Linked DNA regions of Homo sapiens: region 2 is linked to region 1. Evidence: promoter capture Hi-C in human tissues and cell types (Jung and others, 2019). All regions are on one chromosome and are shown on one strand. Each heading gives the region's core, a stretch centred on a gene start or on the middle of the fragment in contact. The rest is flanking DNA. Distances are from core to core; before and after follow the strand shown. Region 1 holds the start of ANXA2 (annexin A2). Region 2 has its middle 120 kb from the start of FOXB1.

Region 1 (7,396 bases), core at 2,170-4,669:
TAGGCACCTGTAATCCCAGCTACTCGGGAGGGTGAGGCTGGAGAATCACTTGAACCTGGGAGGCGGAGGCTACAGTGAGGAGAGATCGTGCGACTACACTCCAGGCTGGGTGACAGAGCCAGGCTCCATCTCAAAAGAAAAAAAAAAGAAAAAAAAAAACAGCTTCAGGGTGTACCCTAGAAGGGAGATTTGGAAGTCATCTGGTAGAACCACCCAGAAGGACAAATATGGGCATCTCCTGACCCCTACTGCTGACCTGTCCCTGGAGAAAGTAGATGAGGACTGCCTCTGGCAACAGCAGAAGAAAAAAGATACCAGGCAGTGAATGGGTGGAAAGAATTTTTTTGAAGGACTGGAATTTCCTCTGGTGTGGCCTACAACTAGAATAGGGTGTGGCACCAGGGCAAGTGAAGAGGATTCTCATGTGAAAAAAAAGAGGAACATTCCATTTCTATTTAATTCTCACAATTGAATCTGGAAGGCAGCTTAAGACACCATAATTTTAAGCAAAACTTCCCCGAGGTAGGTAAAATGTGAAGTTTAGGTCTGTGGAACAGCTGGATTAAAGGGGAAATGAACTCCCACCAAGTTTAGAAACTAGTATTAATTTGGGAAAATATAAAGTTTAAAATCCAACAATTCACTTATTTTGTCTCTTTTCCTTCTCTCTCCGCCAGATTTAAGGTCTAAAGAGCAGGGATTTTATTTTTGGCGGGGGTCTGTTTTGTTCACTGCTGTATCCCTAGTGCTCATAACTATGAGTGGAACACAGTAGGTAATTAATATTTTGTGGAATAAATGGTTGTTTAAAGCAGCCCACTAGAGCCTGAGACTCCTTTTGTGACAATCCCGCTCTCCTTTAATGAAAAATGTCTCCGCAGGCTCCAGGCTCTGCACAAGCGAAGGGTGAGAACAAAGGCTCCAGACAATGCATTAGTGCCAGATTCTAGGCCCAGTGGTGTAGGAAGAGCCTACAGCCCTCAAAATCAATAGCAATTATAGAAGCACATCTACTTTGCCAGGAAAACTACTTAAATCAGAAATTAGCCAGGAAACTAACGGCCATGACTGCGAGCCTAATGTCAATCAATACCATAGTTTAATAGCTCAAAGACACAAGATGCTAAATATTGAGACTCCAGTGCAAGACTGAGCTCCTAATCAAAGTCAGTGAGTCAGCAATATTTCCTGGGCATTTACCACAGGCAGTCTAGTTGGCACTGCGGGAAATTACAAAATCTAAACGGTCTCCAAATCACAAACCTCCAATTGTAAAAATGCACATACATGTCACATCCTTCCACTGCAGATGCAAGGGACATTTTTGGACAAACCCTTGACCTTTAGATAATCGACAGACTTGGAAGAAGGGAAGAAATTACTAAGCAGGACTGTGTTAACACTCCTGGCCCTTGCCCATCAAGGGCACCTCTGCTGCCCCAGTCTTACCAAAAATCTTCCTTAATATTGCCTGAATATTGCTGCTTTACATTCTATAAATTATAGATCTGTTTAGGTGAACGAGGGTTTTTTATTATTATTATGTATTTATTTTTTGAGACTGGGTCTTGCTATGTTGCTCACATTGGCCTTGGACTCAAGAGATCCACTAGCTTGAGCAGCTGGGACTACAGGCCCACGACCACGCCCAGTATCGTTGTTTTTTAAATAACAAGACTCCTCTCGGTTGCTGAGGCTCTTAGGACCACCAACCATTCCTAACTTAATGAATATCGATTCAATCTGCTAGTCTCTAGCTGGATGCAGGTCCGCCGAAATGGGAAGGAGGAAGGAATGCAGCGTAACTGGACCGGCCTGGATGGCTGTTGTAATGCGTCACGGAAGAGCCAGAAGAGCGTCTCTAAGGAGGTGGAAGGTGGAAAAAAGAAAGTGGAACAGGGGCAAAGACATAATTTTCCAATTAAAATAATTTACTCAGTGTCAACCTTAAAGCTAAAAAAAGTTCCAGAAAAATATTTCAGTGATTTAGTCTTCCTACACACACATTGCCCCTCACTACCCTCCACCTCCCCACCACCAATCCCATAATCAGGCAGTGCATGTTAAAAAGGTCTTTCAGGGCTAGCCTGGGAACGTCAGCACCTTCTGCAACACTGTTTCAGTGGGAAAGTGCATTCTGCATTCCAAGTCACCAAGTTCCAGACAGGCACAGTAGCACACACGTGTGAACAGAATCCATCAGTACAGTCTGGGGCCCAGGCCTTTGCACACCAACAACTTAAGGTTCTTGGTAATGGCCCAGCGTGCACCCATGAGGCCACTGCTCTTTTACACACGCACTCAGAACACCCACAGCTTTAAAACGGCAATCTTACTACAAAAATGACACTTTGCATTTGCACAGCACTTTGTTTTTTGTGTACTTTACACATTTATTACCTAATGACTGTGTTTTTTGAAATCTCCAATAACTCTGGGTGGTGGTAAGAATAGGCATCCTTAAGCCACCTTCCCAGATGAGGAAACTTATCTGTGTTCCCCTCCTTCTTCTCAACAGCCGGCTGATGGAACCCAAGCCCTCCACACCAGCAGTGGGGCCAGCTGCACAGAGCGGCCAGAAGGGAGAGGCCCCGGGGCCACGCCCTTCTCTCTACTCTCAGTTCCTGACTCATTGTCACATCATGGCGAGTAACAGGACAACCCTCCCCACAGAATCATGGGGGACACTACCTTCCTGAGGCCAATGTGTTCAACCAAGCGGGAAACTCTCCGGGTAGAGTGAAATCCGAAGTTGCTATGCTACAAGATAACCTAGAGCAAGGGGAATAACTGACGTTTTAATGTCTTCTTTTATGGGGGGCTGAGGGGTGCCTACTCACACTCCCCCCTCTCGTCTTCCCCCGCTACTTCCCTCCTGCTGGTCGGTTCAACTCCACAAGCGCGCGTTTGTTTCGAGTACAGTAACTTAGAGCAGATGGGGGGCACTTTCTAGAGGGCAGTGGAAAGCCCACTTGCTACTGCTGCGCCGGGGACCTGCGGCTCCCTGGGCGGCCACGCCCTGCCTCGGCGGCGCCTGGCGCGTCTGGAATGCGGGGCCTCCCTCCGCCCCTCTCCCCACGCCGCCTCGCCCCGCTCCCGCTAGGGCTTCTTAGAGAAGCCCGACCCCCCACCACCTCTGCCCTGCACCCTCCCGGCCCGAGGGCCGGTGGCCCCTCACCCCTGCCCCAAACACCTTGTCCCTGAGCCCCCTCCCCAAAGACTCTCCAGTGCCGGCCGTCCCTTCAGCCCCCTGCCCCCGACGGCCTCCGGGGCCAGTTGCCGGGGCCTCCCTGCCAGGCCGTACCCTTCTTCCCAGCGTCTCCACACCCCGCTAGCTGGCGGCCCATCGCGGGCGGGCAGGGCGCGCCCCGCTTACCTGGGCCGTGCGCCGAGAGCTGAGAGCGTCCCCAAATGCTGAGCAGAGCCGGCTGGCCTGGGTGGGGCTTTTATACCCGCCACATCCTCCCTAGGCGAGGCGAGGCCCGCCCCGCCCCGCCCCGCCTCCCCCTTACACGGCCCGCTCCCACCCCAAGTCAGGGGTGACTCACCCCGGCCCGCCGGCCCGCAGGGACCGCGCCCTGGAACGCTCCCGAGCCGCGCCACGCGGGAGCGGCCCCAGCGCCCCTGGCCCTGCCCTCCGAGAAAGCCCGGCCGAGGCTGCCCCGAGGCCCACAGGGACCCCGTTTCTTCCTCCTTTCCTCATTTTACTTCTTAAGTGCCACGTCGAGCTCTCAGCCTCGGCTTGGGTTAATAAATTAACAAGACTTTAGTAGTAGACTCTGGGCTTGATTAAGTGTTTTTTTTTTTTTTTTTTTTTTTTTGGCGTTAATGCAATGGAGGAAAGAATTGTTCCAAGAAACATAAATCTGGACTCCCCTGAGCTGGGGCTGTTGGCATCCAGCGCCCCATTACCGTCTGCAAACATGTCAGCTTAACCTCTGGCCGCCAGTTCCCGGGGGGCGCCCGGGGAGGGAGGGAGATTCGCCCTGTGCTGCAAAGCCTGGCCCGCCCCGGCCTCCGAGGGCCAGGAAGCCCCGAGCCTGGGCTGGGAGGCCAAAGCCGGGAGCCAGGATCCCACCTCAGTCCCGCCCAGGGTGGCGCCCCTGTCCCTAGCACGGCTGTGCTCCGCTTCTCTCCGCGCCTGGGGCATCTCTGCGCGGCCTCGTAGCAGGCAGTCCTGAGCGGGGTGGGGCCCATAGCTTTGAACCCGGAGTTTCGTGTGTGTGTGTGTGTGTGTGTGTGTGTGTGTGTGTGTGTGTGTGTGTGTGTTTCGAACCCGGAGTTTCAACAAAGAACTTTCCTCTCCTTCTTTCATGACTGCTGGGGTGTGTGTGTGCGTGTGTGGTGTGTGTGTGTGTGTGTGTGTGTTTCTTGCAGCCGTTTAGCCAACTCCCTTGCTCGGTGTTGCTGTTACTCGCTTTTCTTCCGAGAGAGAGAGAGAGAGAGAGAGAGAGAGAGTTTCTTGCAGCACAGAGAGAGAGAGAGAGAGTGAGATAGAGAGTTTCTTGCAGCCAGTTAGCCAACTCCCTTGCTCGGTTTTGCTGTTTCTCACTTTTCTTCCGTGTGTGTGTGTGTGTGTGTGTGTTTCTTGCAGCCGTTTAGCCAACTCTCTTGCTCGGTTTTGCTGTTTCTCGCTTTTCTTCCGTGTGTGTGTGTGTGTGTGTGTGTGTGTGTGTGTTTCTTGCAGCCGTTTAGCCAACTCCCTTGCTCGGTTTTGCTGCTTCTCGCTTTTCTTCCAAGAGTCACGTTGGCAACGTGCAGGCAGACACCTATTTGTTGTATGTGAGACGACGCAAATACTGTATTCGAACCTCAAACTAACAGGAAAGCGACGCTGAGAATCCCGAGGATCTCTGGCTGCGTTTTTTAAACCCCTCCTTGCACACTACTTCCTGCAGCTCTTTTTCCTGGTTTTGATGATTCTGTGTTTCAATCTCCCATTTATCTTAACATCCATTTTTACTTTCCATTTGAGCGTCAATTCACTCCTGGGAATCAGAGAATGATAGCAAGGCCAACAGACATTCAGTGCTCTGCCCACTCGCATAGAGTGACACAGGCAAAGTCGGCCACAGCTGAGGTCTTTTAACCCGCCCAAAGCTTTCTGTTACCCAGCGCTTTCACGAGGAATTATACGCGATGGGCCCTACCACAGAGCCAAATAGAAAATCAAGCAACACTTTGGGTACAATTGCTGATTTACATTTATAGCTCTTCAATTTAGCCTGAAAGCTTCAAAGTCAGAAACAATGTTTATCTGCTTACTTTGTGTGAACATTTTGGAAGGTTAGGGGAACACAGGCAGACAGTAATATTGGGCACGATTCAGCCTCCCTTCTGTGTATCTCAAGATAGGTTCCACAGTCTCTTACTCCTAATCGTGCTGTGATAGGCCCTTTACAGAAGATAAAATTTAATTCAAATCATGTGGAATATATAAAAGCCATCAAATGTCCAAAAGAGTTTTGTGCTCATCTTGGGCATGCCACAAATTCTAACTTCTATAGATTTGTACAATCACCAGTCTTTGCATCATGCTAAAGAAATGTGCACTGATGTTATCATAAAAATGAAGCTATTAGAAGTCATAGTTTGCTATTTCTGAGGAATGTGAGGCCAGTTCTTCCAGTATAAAAGATCTTTTATTAGTCAGAAGACTCTATTTTCCCCCCTGGTTGAGGAGAATGTTTACATCAGCCCTCAGATTGTCTGCTGTTGTCCATATTGCTCTCTAAGTGCTTGACTTTGTTTTGTTCACACTTCATCTGCTGCACTCAACACCTACTAGCGCCTAGCTAGCAATGATAGGCACTCACTAAATGTGATAGAATGATAAAATACAATTATTCACTGAATAATAGAATGTTAAAGCAGGGAGGGACCCTAGAGATTAAATTGCCCTATCCTTGATTTTTACTATTATTATTCTTATATCTTTTAGTTGAGATCTCACACTGTCACCCAGGCTGGAACGCATGGCATGATTAGGGCTCACCGCAGCCTTGACTGCGGAGGCTCAAGAAATCCTCTCCTCTCAGCCTCTTGAGTAGCTGGGACCACAGGCCCACGCCACCAAGCCTGGCTAATTTTTCTATTATTTGTAGAGACGACAAAGTCTTGCTATGCTGCTCAGGCTGGTCCCGAACTTCTGGGCTCAAGTGATCTGCCTACCTTAGCCTCCCAAAGTTCTAGGATTACAGGCGTGAATTACTATACCCGGCTCTTGATTTTTACATATGAAGAAATTGGAGTCCAAATAAAATCTCCTGCCCAGTCCAGGGATTAAATAATGCACCCAAGGCCCTCGTATCAGTTACCTTTGCAGTATAACAAATTATCCCCATAAACTTAGTGGTTAAACATAACCATTTACTTGCTTGTAATTCTGCAATTTAAGCAGGACACCCAGTGGGGACAGCTTGGTGCTCCTCCACAGCATGTTGGGTTGGGTAGCTTAGTTGGGGTTGGAAGATTGAAAGCAGCTTCATTCGTCTGGCGCCTGAGCTGGGATTGCTAGAATGACAAAGAGCAGGCTGGGCCTTTCTCTTCCTTGGTCTTACATCCTCCAGGTTCTCCTCTTTTGCTACACCACGGTAGTCATGGCAGCCAGCCTTCTAGAAGCAAAAGCTGAAGCTGCCAGGCCTCTTGGCTCACAGGCTGTGCAAAAACAAGCAATAGGCTGGATTTGCCCTATGGGCTGTAGTTTGCTGATCCTTGTTTTAATCCATTGCCCTACTCAAGTTTTTGGTTTTGCCCTCTGATATCTAGGCTCCTCCCTTTAAGATGTATTTCCTTTTCTTAAGAATGGCCCAGGCCAGGCATGGTGGCTCACGCCTGTAATCCCAGCACTTTGGGAGGCTGAGGAGGGCAGGTCATGAGGTCAGGAGATCAAGACCAGCCTGACCAACATGGTGAAACCTCATTTCTACTAAAAATACAAAAAATTAAGCTGGGCGTGGTGGCGGGCGCCTGTAGTCCCAGCTACTCGGGAGGCTGAGCAGCAGGAGAATGGCTTGAACCCAGGAGGGGGAGGTTGCAGTGAGCTGAGATCGCACCACTGCACTCCAGCATGGGTGACAGAGCGAGACTCCGTCTCAAGAAAAAAAAAAAAAAAAAGAATGGCCCATATTTGTAGCTGAGCAGTTCTCTCAGTCTGCTTCATTCATGCCAGGAGAAACTGAAAGGTCTAGAAACTTCTTTTCATTTTGCACTTTTTCTGGTTTAAGCTGGCAGTTGTTTCATTAATACAAGTATCTTAAAAACCATGTAGATTTTCCATATCTTATTAAGGTTCACACCATGCTCCAAGATTTATATACAATTTTCTCAAAAACTTTATTTATATAAATCTTGCTGAGGTTTAATTCCATGTTCCAAGATTCACATTCATTTTTTT
Region 2 (7,396 bases), core at 2,055-4,554, 520 kb before region 1:
TGAAATCTGCTTTGAATAGCAAGAAATTCCTAACAATATCTTCAACGCCTGCAACAACGAAATCTAATCTCTGAACTCCTAAAGGTCAAGATTTGCTGTCTGGTAGCACGGCTCAAGAGTAAATGCTCCCTAATGCTGTGCTAGGCAATTGCTTTGCACTCCAGACAATGTCAATTTTGTCCAAGTAGCTGCAGATGTGTCTAGCATTAAGTCAGAATGGTGTCAAGGGCCCTTCTTGAACACTGGCTGATTCTCAGAGAAACTGGTCCTAAAGCCCTAGTCTATTACAGCCCATGCCCAAAAGACAGATATTTAGAGCTTAAAGGAGGATGGAGAATAAAGCTGCATTAGATTTTTTAATGTTTCTGAATCAGGAGACCCAGGGGAAGAAATTCTCCCGTGATCCAAATGTCCTTCCCTCCCCCTCCCCACCAGCAGCCCTTTGGATTTCCTGATTAAGGTACTGCACAGTATCTATGAAGGCCTACCCTTGAGCTACTTTCCTGATAAACCATTCATCACTGCTCTGGCCAATTCTAGCTATGGAAAAGCTATAACAGACTAATGAACTCATTAAATTAAGAAATGTATGTTACAAGAAGTAATGTGCCAAGAGAAGGCGTGGGGGTAGGGTGGAGGGAGCAGAGATTGAACCAACCTCTAAGCAGAGTACTTAACATAATGAAGTCTGCAAATGCATCAGCCCCTTAATCCCCAATCCTGCAAGGAAGACAGTCCTCCACCCCCCGACAACTATGCTTCTGTAGTTTAACGTGTCCCCCCAACCCCCACTTTTTAAAGCAGGAAAACATTATAACTGATTTGAAGACATACTTAAACTAGAATATCTGGATGGAGGTATTTTGGTTTTAAAAATTAATAAGAGCCAGAGGAAGGTATTTTCCTTTTTAAAATTGATAGGGAGTATAAACAAAATAATATTTCTCACGTTGCACTGGGAAACCCATTCACCTTTTCCCACCTATCTATCACCAGTAGTACCTCCGCTACTCTGAAGCAATTCATTTTTAATTCCTTTCCTCCTGTGTTCTCTTCATCTGCTGTAAGCCTTAAAATAAGAAAAAAGTCTACCTGGAGCAGGTTGCCATGAGTTCCATAAGCATGCCTTGCCAGATTGTAGAGGAAACAGTTCTTAAGACAGGGAAATCAGAATGTTGCTTTTTTCTGTGTCAAATAAAAGACTGTGTTGTCTTTGGCAACACATCTCACATTTTCACTTGGCAGCATCCATAACCCAGAAGGACGGAACATGCCACGTAGTTTCCTAAACTTTCCCCAGTCTACTCCTTGGTAACAGATATGTAACAAGTGGCAGAGGTTACAAATGATTCACTCTGGACTGTCTCTGCTGAAAACCACAGTGCATTTCACAGATGGAATGCCATTTGTTCTGTGAAATCAGCAAAGAAGACAAGCCTTGTTTTTCTGCATCTGGAAATATGTTATAGAAAACCCAGGGTTTGATTTTCTTCTTTACCTCTCCTTTGATTGCATCAGGCTTTTGGCCCTTCTTTACTGCCAATAACTTGCACTGGATGTCAAGTATCACCTGGGAGGGATACTAATTTAAACCAGGGTTGTAAACTGCAGAACCCAGGCAGGCAACACAAGTGACTGGAAAGAGCAGGCATAACACAACTGTGAGTGTGGAACTGGGTGAGCTGGAGGCAGTAGTTCTTCATCTTCAGCCAAGTGTTGCTGGGTAGAAATGCTTGTTTGCATTGCTGGATCATCCAATTTTTTTAAGAGAAGAGAGAAATTGGATTTTATTGTGGATGAAATTTCCAAATTGTTGAATATTGGCTCAATTTTTTTAAAACATGGTATAGGCAAATAAAACTTGGCTGCTTAACAGATCTAGCCCTTGGAATGCCAGATGTGATCCCTGCTTTAAACACATTTACACCTCCGCTCAAATGGGAAGTCACCTGATTGATTAGAAATGTTGGTAGGGAGGTCAAGAGTGTTGCAGAGACAGCATGAGATCTGCCTATAATTGGATGGGCCAACTGGAGGAAAATCCAACCTGCATGTTGAGTCAATCCCAGGATTTGATGTAAGGGAACAAGTCCAAAGGCCTCTTATTCTAAAATTGGGGGGATGAGGGTAATTAGTGCCAAAACAGGTCAAAAACTAGGAGATGTGGATAAAGAGGCTAAGTAGGTGAATTGTGAGTGCAGATTGCTCAAGGTCTAAACCAGGGATGCTAAATTGGATTCCTCGCACCTGCCAAGTCCAATTGACTAGGCTGATAGCTGTCAGGAAGGCCGGGAGGCTGAAAGGAAAGCATACTAAGGATAGGGGAGTCTTGAGTGCAGTTATCTTGCCAACCCTGGTCTGAAAAAGCCCAAGATTTGAGGGACTACCATACATTTAGCTCTCTTCCAAGCAGGCAGGGGTTCCAGGTCTGCGTACAAGACAGCAACATAAACACTGGCCTGCTTTGTATCTTTAAGTCATGTTTATAGAGATTCTATAGGCTACATCAGAATTGGAATTTACATCATGCATTTGGAAACAACAAAGAACATTTATCATACTGGAAGAAAGAGTTTAAAATACAGATTCTAAACTGAATGACTCAGTATTAAAAGAAAAATATTAAAAGATATAAAATTTTTCTTTTATATCACTTTAATACATATAAGTGATAACATATATGAGAATCTATCTGCCCACACTTGGCCTTTAATATTTAAATATTAGGGCCAGGCATCGTGGCTCACGCCTGTAATCCCAGCACTTTGGGAGGCTGAAGTGGGTGGATCACAGGGTCAGGAGTTCGAGACCAGCCTGGCCAATATGGTGAAATCCTGTCTCTACTAAAAAAAATACAAAGAATTAGCCAGGCATGGTGGTGGGCGCTTGTAATCCCAGTTACATTGGAGGCTGAGACAGGAGAATCGCTTGAACCTGGGAGGCGGAGGTTGCAGTGAGCTGAGATCACGCCACTGCACTCCATCCTGGGTGACAGGGCGAGACTCTGTCTCAAAAAAAAAAAAATTAAATATTAGGATTACATGAGCCTTGTTTCCACTGTTTGAAAATCCACCGAAGTGTATGCAGTGGTATGCTACTCAAATTCCCCTTCAGGACCTAGCAATTCACTTTCCCAGCTGCTGGGAGTGTTGGCTACTGATGGCTCACAGCTGAGTCCTCTCCAGAAACTGTCATCAGCCACAGGCTCCTTGGGGCAGCTGCCATTCAAAGGTGGTCAAAGGAGGCTATAACCTCCTTACCTCAATTGGGACAATGCTGAAGGACCATCCATGTTCCAAAGCTCCCAAAATATCACTACATGGCAGTTTACCTTTCTCCTTTGCCCGATTCTGCCTCCTTCATTCCCTGCTCTGTACATAAATCTCAGAGTCTCAGAATCTGTTTCCCGGGAAACTGACCTACAACAAGGACCTAATTGAAATGTAGGCATATAATAGAATACCAAAGATTCTGTATGTCAGGCTAATTTTAAATGACTTTCACAATGATGAAATAAAATTGCAGATTTAGGGAAGCAAGAAATAAATTATGTGAAGTTTAATGAAAACATTTCCATTTGTCAATAGCATTTAGCTTTACCTATGAGTAGGGCATGTATGTCATTTTGATTTGTCTAGGATGCCGCCCTGTTTCTTTGGGGGACTTCTCTGCACTCCAGTTATCAGTGCTGAAGAGCAAGTGCCAATTGTGATGCCCAGCTTTCTGAAGACAGGAGTAGGCAAGTGAGCATGGTCTGGCCATACCCTGTCTATTCAGATTAGGCCAAGAGAAGGGCATGTGACCAAGACTGAGCTAATTAGAGTCATTTCATGAGATTTAATAGAACACACCAAGAAAGACAGACTTTTTTTTCCCCTCTTACATCATGGGCTATGATAATGTAAGCCTGGAGTGCCTAGGTAACTGTGGACCTCAATGCGCATCTACAGTGGAAGAGAGTAAGGCCACCCCATCGGGAGAAGCAGAGCCAAGAGATAAAGAAAAAGATGGCAATGCTGTTTATGCCCTTGGGTCCTACTGTGTTTGTAGTCAAAACCAAACTTGGACATCTCAGTTACATGAACCACAACCATTTTTCCATTCTGCATAAGCTATGTTGAGTTGAGACATACATCACTTGAAACTGCAAGACTCCTGACTCTTTCACTGCACTAATCGTTCAGTCAGAGACAGATTAAAACAAAGATAAGGCCAGGCGCGGTGGCTCACGCCTGTAATCCCAGCCCTTTGGGAGGCCGAGGCGGGCGGATCACGAGGTCAGGAAATGGAGAGCATCCTGGCTAACATGGTGAAACCCCGTCTCCACTAAAAATACAAAAAAGAAAATTAGCCAGGCGTGGTGGCAGGCGCCTGTAGTCCCAGAGTCCTAGCTACTTGGGAGGCTGAGGCAGGAGAATGGCGTGAACCTGGGAGGCGGAGCTTGCAGTAGCCGAGACTGTGCCACTGCACTCCAACCTGGGCGACAGAGCGAGACTCTGTCTCAAAAAATAAACAAACAAACAAACAAACAAAAAACAAAGATAAATAATGACCCTATGGGATAATAGCAAAACAGAGGTCCCTAGCATCAGGAGCCAAGAGCTCTACTAAATTTCCACAAAGTAATGCATCCATGAAACAGACAGGATGCATTTTGGGGGAACTTCTTTGTCAAAAAAAAAAAAAAAAAAAACAAATCTAGAAGCAGAATTAATATAGGCAGAATATAGGATAGATAGAATAGTGACAGAAATAAAATGGGGTTTGCAATGTAAAAAAAATCAACTGATGACTCCCGAAAATAAAAACAAATGGGAAAAAAAAATTGCACCTGGTATTCTTGGAGGAGAGGAAACAGTGTTGAGTTAAGGTCAGGAGAGATGGAGGAGGGAGGCCTGATCTGGGCTCAGGCAGAGAAGTCTGATGGTGGGGAGGCCGTGTGGGGCCTGGCAGTCTGGAGGAAGGGATTGGCTGACTCACATTAGTGCAGGGGGCTTCCAGGTCAAGGAGGAAGCAGGTGATTGGTTTACCCACATCCCACAATTCCTAAGCAGCGGCTGATTAGCTGTGAAGCTAACAAAGATTAAGCTTTGAGGGCCCTCACTTGCAAAATCCCTTCCAAGATCCTGTGAGGGGCTCTTGCAATTTGTTCCCATGGTCATATGTGCTTGTAACATTTGCATAACAAGTGGTTAAGTCACTTACTGTTTCTAACCTAATTTTCCCTGTATCCTACTGCCCCTCATGATGTGTGGTGTTAAAGTGGTCACGAGCATCTTGGGGGATCCAGCTAAAAGGAAGTTGATTTGGAGATCCATTTAAGTTGGGTTCTGTGGATCATATTAATGTAGTTCATGGTCTCTTCTATGTAGTTAAGATATTGCTTGCCATCCTGGTATAGGGTTGTCTTCCAGGAATGCTACTACCCAGGAATGCTAATGCTACTGTTACTCACTTTGCTGGCTTATAAAGATGCAGAGCAAGAGATGCTAGAGCAAGGCCAGGCACAGTGGCTCACGCCTGTAATCCCAGCAGTTTGGGAGGCTGAGGCGAGTGGATCACTTGAGGTCAGGAGTTTGAGACCAGCCTGGCCAACATGGTGAAACCCCATTTCTACTAGAAATACAAAAATTAGCCAGGCTTGGTGGCGTGCACCCATAATCCCAGCTGCTCGGGAGGCTGAGGCAGGAGAATCGCTTGAGCCCAGGAAGCGGAGGTTGCAGTGAGCCAAGATCAAGCCACTGCACTCCAGCCTGGGTGACCGGGCAAGACTCTGTCTCAAATAAATAAATAAATAAATAAATAAATAAATACAATACTAAAAATCTATGTGATGTTATCAATTATAATTTATAAAGATAAAAAAATTCAAAATAGACAATAAGTGAAATTCTTTCTACCAACCATATTAAAGACTGAATTATCTCTGTGGTTTCTATATAGAAAATATTACAAAATTGTCACTTGAGAAGGCAATGAAAATGTATGCAGCTGGCAAATATTGGGGAGAAAATATAGAAACACATGAAGCACACAGTGATGAGCTTAATCAATGTGACGCTTGTGGTTTTTGTTGGTATTTAACATTTTGTTGCTTATTTTTATTTATATTGTTATTCTAAATAAATACAGTTGATCCTTGAAAAACACAGACTTGAATTGTGCAGGCCACTTATATGTGGAGCGTTTTTCAATGAATGTATTGGAAAATTTTTTGGAGACTTGAGACAATTTGAAAAAACTCACAGATGAACAACTACTCCTGAGACAGCAGATCAACCTCTCCTCTCCCTCCTCCTCAGCCTACTCAACAAGAAGACAGTGATGATGAAGCCCTTTATGATGATCATAATCCACTTTTATTTAATGAATAGTAAATACATTTTCTCCTCCTTATGATTTTCTTAACGTTTTCTTTTCTCTAAATTACTTTATTATAAGAATACAGTATATAATACATATAAACATACAAAATACATGTTAATTGACTGTTTATGTTATCGGTAAGGTTCCAGTCAAGAATAAGCCATTAGTAGTTAATTTTCTGGGGAGTCAAAAGTTATACATGGATTTTTTGTATTACACAGGGGTCGACACTGTTTGAGGGTTAGCTGTATATACCCACTCATGCCTAATTTTGTGTCTGTAGTTTTGTGTTTTTTCACAGGGCCCTTCCCCTTCCCCACCCCACCCCACCCAAGAATGTGTAAGCTTTCTTCAAGCCCCACAAAATCTGCCCCTGCGGTTGGACTTCCTCCACTGGACAAGGGACAAAGGTCAGAGGGGAAGACATCTTGAACCAGCCCTCCTAGCCCCACCCAGCGACCTTGACAAGGATCTAAATTTTTGTAATCTGCATTAATTATCAGTTGATGAAGTTTTATATTATTATTATTTAGACGGAATCTCACTCTGTGACCCAGTCTGGAGTGCAGTGGCAAAATCTCAGCTCACTGCAACCTCTACCTCCTGGGTTCAAGCAATTCTCGTGCCTCAGTCATCCTAGTAGCTAGGATTACAGCTGTGTGTCACTACGCTTGGCTAATTTTTTTATTTTTAGTAGAGGTGGAGTTTCACCACATTGGCCAGGCTGGTCTCGAACTCCTGACCTCAAGCAATCCACCCACCCAAAATGTAGGCATTACAGGTGTGAGCCACCGCACCTGGCCAGTTGATGAGTCTTCATGCTAGTTTGCTTCCTGAAATATCTTTCTACGTGTTTGCTGAAATCTAACTGGCGCCTGGGATTACTTTAGCAGGGCTGAGTCTTATTTTTCTCCAATTCAGCTTAAACTGCAAATGCTTCATTTAGTTAAACCTTCAGGATAAATTAGCTTCGTTTTTCCCTGGTCTTGCAGTATGGGGCAGGGGAGGACTAGGGGGAGGGGAACAGAAG

The links. The method cuts DNA at HindIII sites, captures the fragments that hold promoters and counts their contacts. A contact is called where the count stands out against the background at its distance.
Region 2: a contact is called between a fragment that was not itself captured here and the fragment with the promoter of ANXA2 in region 1, in 1 of the 25 tissues and cell types used here (H1 embryonic stem cells).

What each region holds. Positions count from the first base shown.
Region 1 is chr15:60,394,567-60,401,962 of GRCh38, forward strand. ANXA2 (annexin A2) reads right to left here and starts at 3,420. Exons shown (of 13, transcript NM_004039.3): 1 at 3,377-3,420. RefSeq lists enhancers at 1,766-2,357, 2,358-2,949, 2,443-2,492, 2,553-2,602, 2,623-2,812 and silencers at 2,973-3,112, 3,183-3,722, 3,843-4,152. The HindIII fragment of the contact is 12,062 bases long and covers 2,471-7,396 here.
Region 2 is chr15:59,878,405-59,885,800 of GRCh38, forward strand. No RefSeq gene overlaps it. Among named protein-coding and RNA genes, the nearest start is that of FOXB1, 120 kb to the right of the region's middle. The HindIII fragment of the contact is 5,189 bases long and covers 711-5,899 here.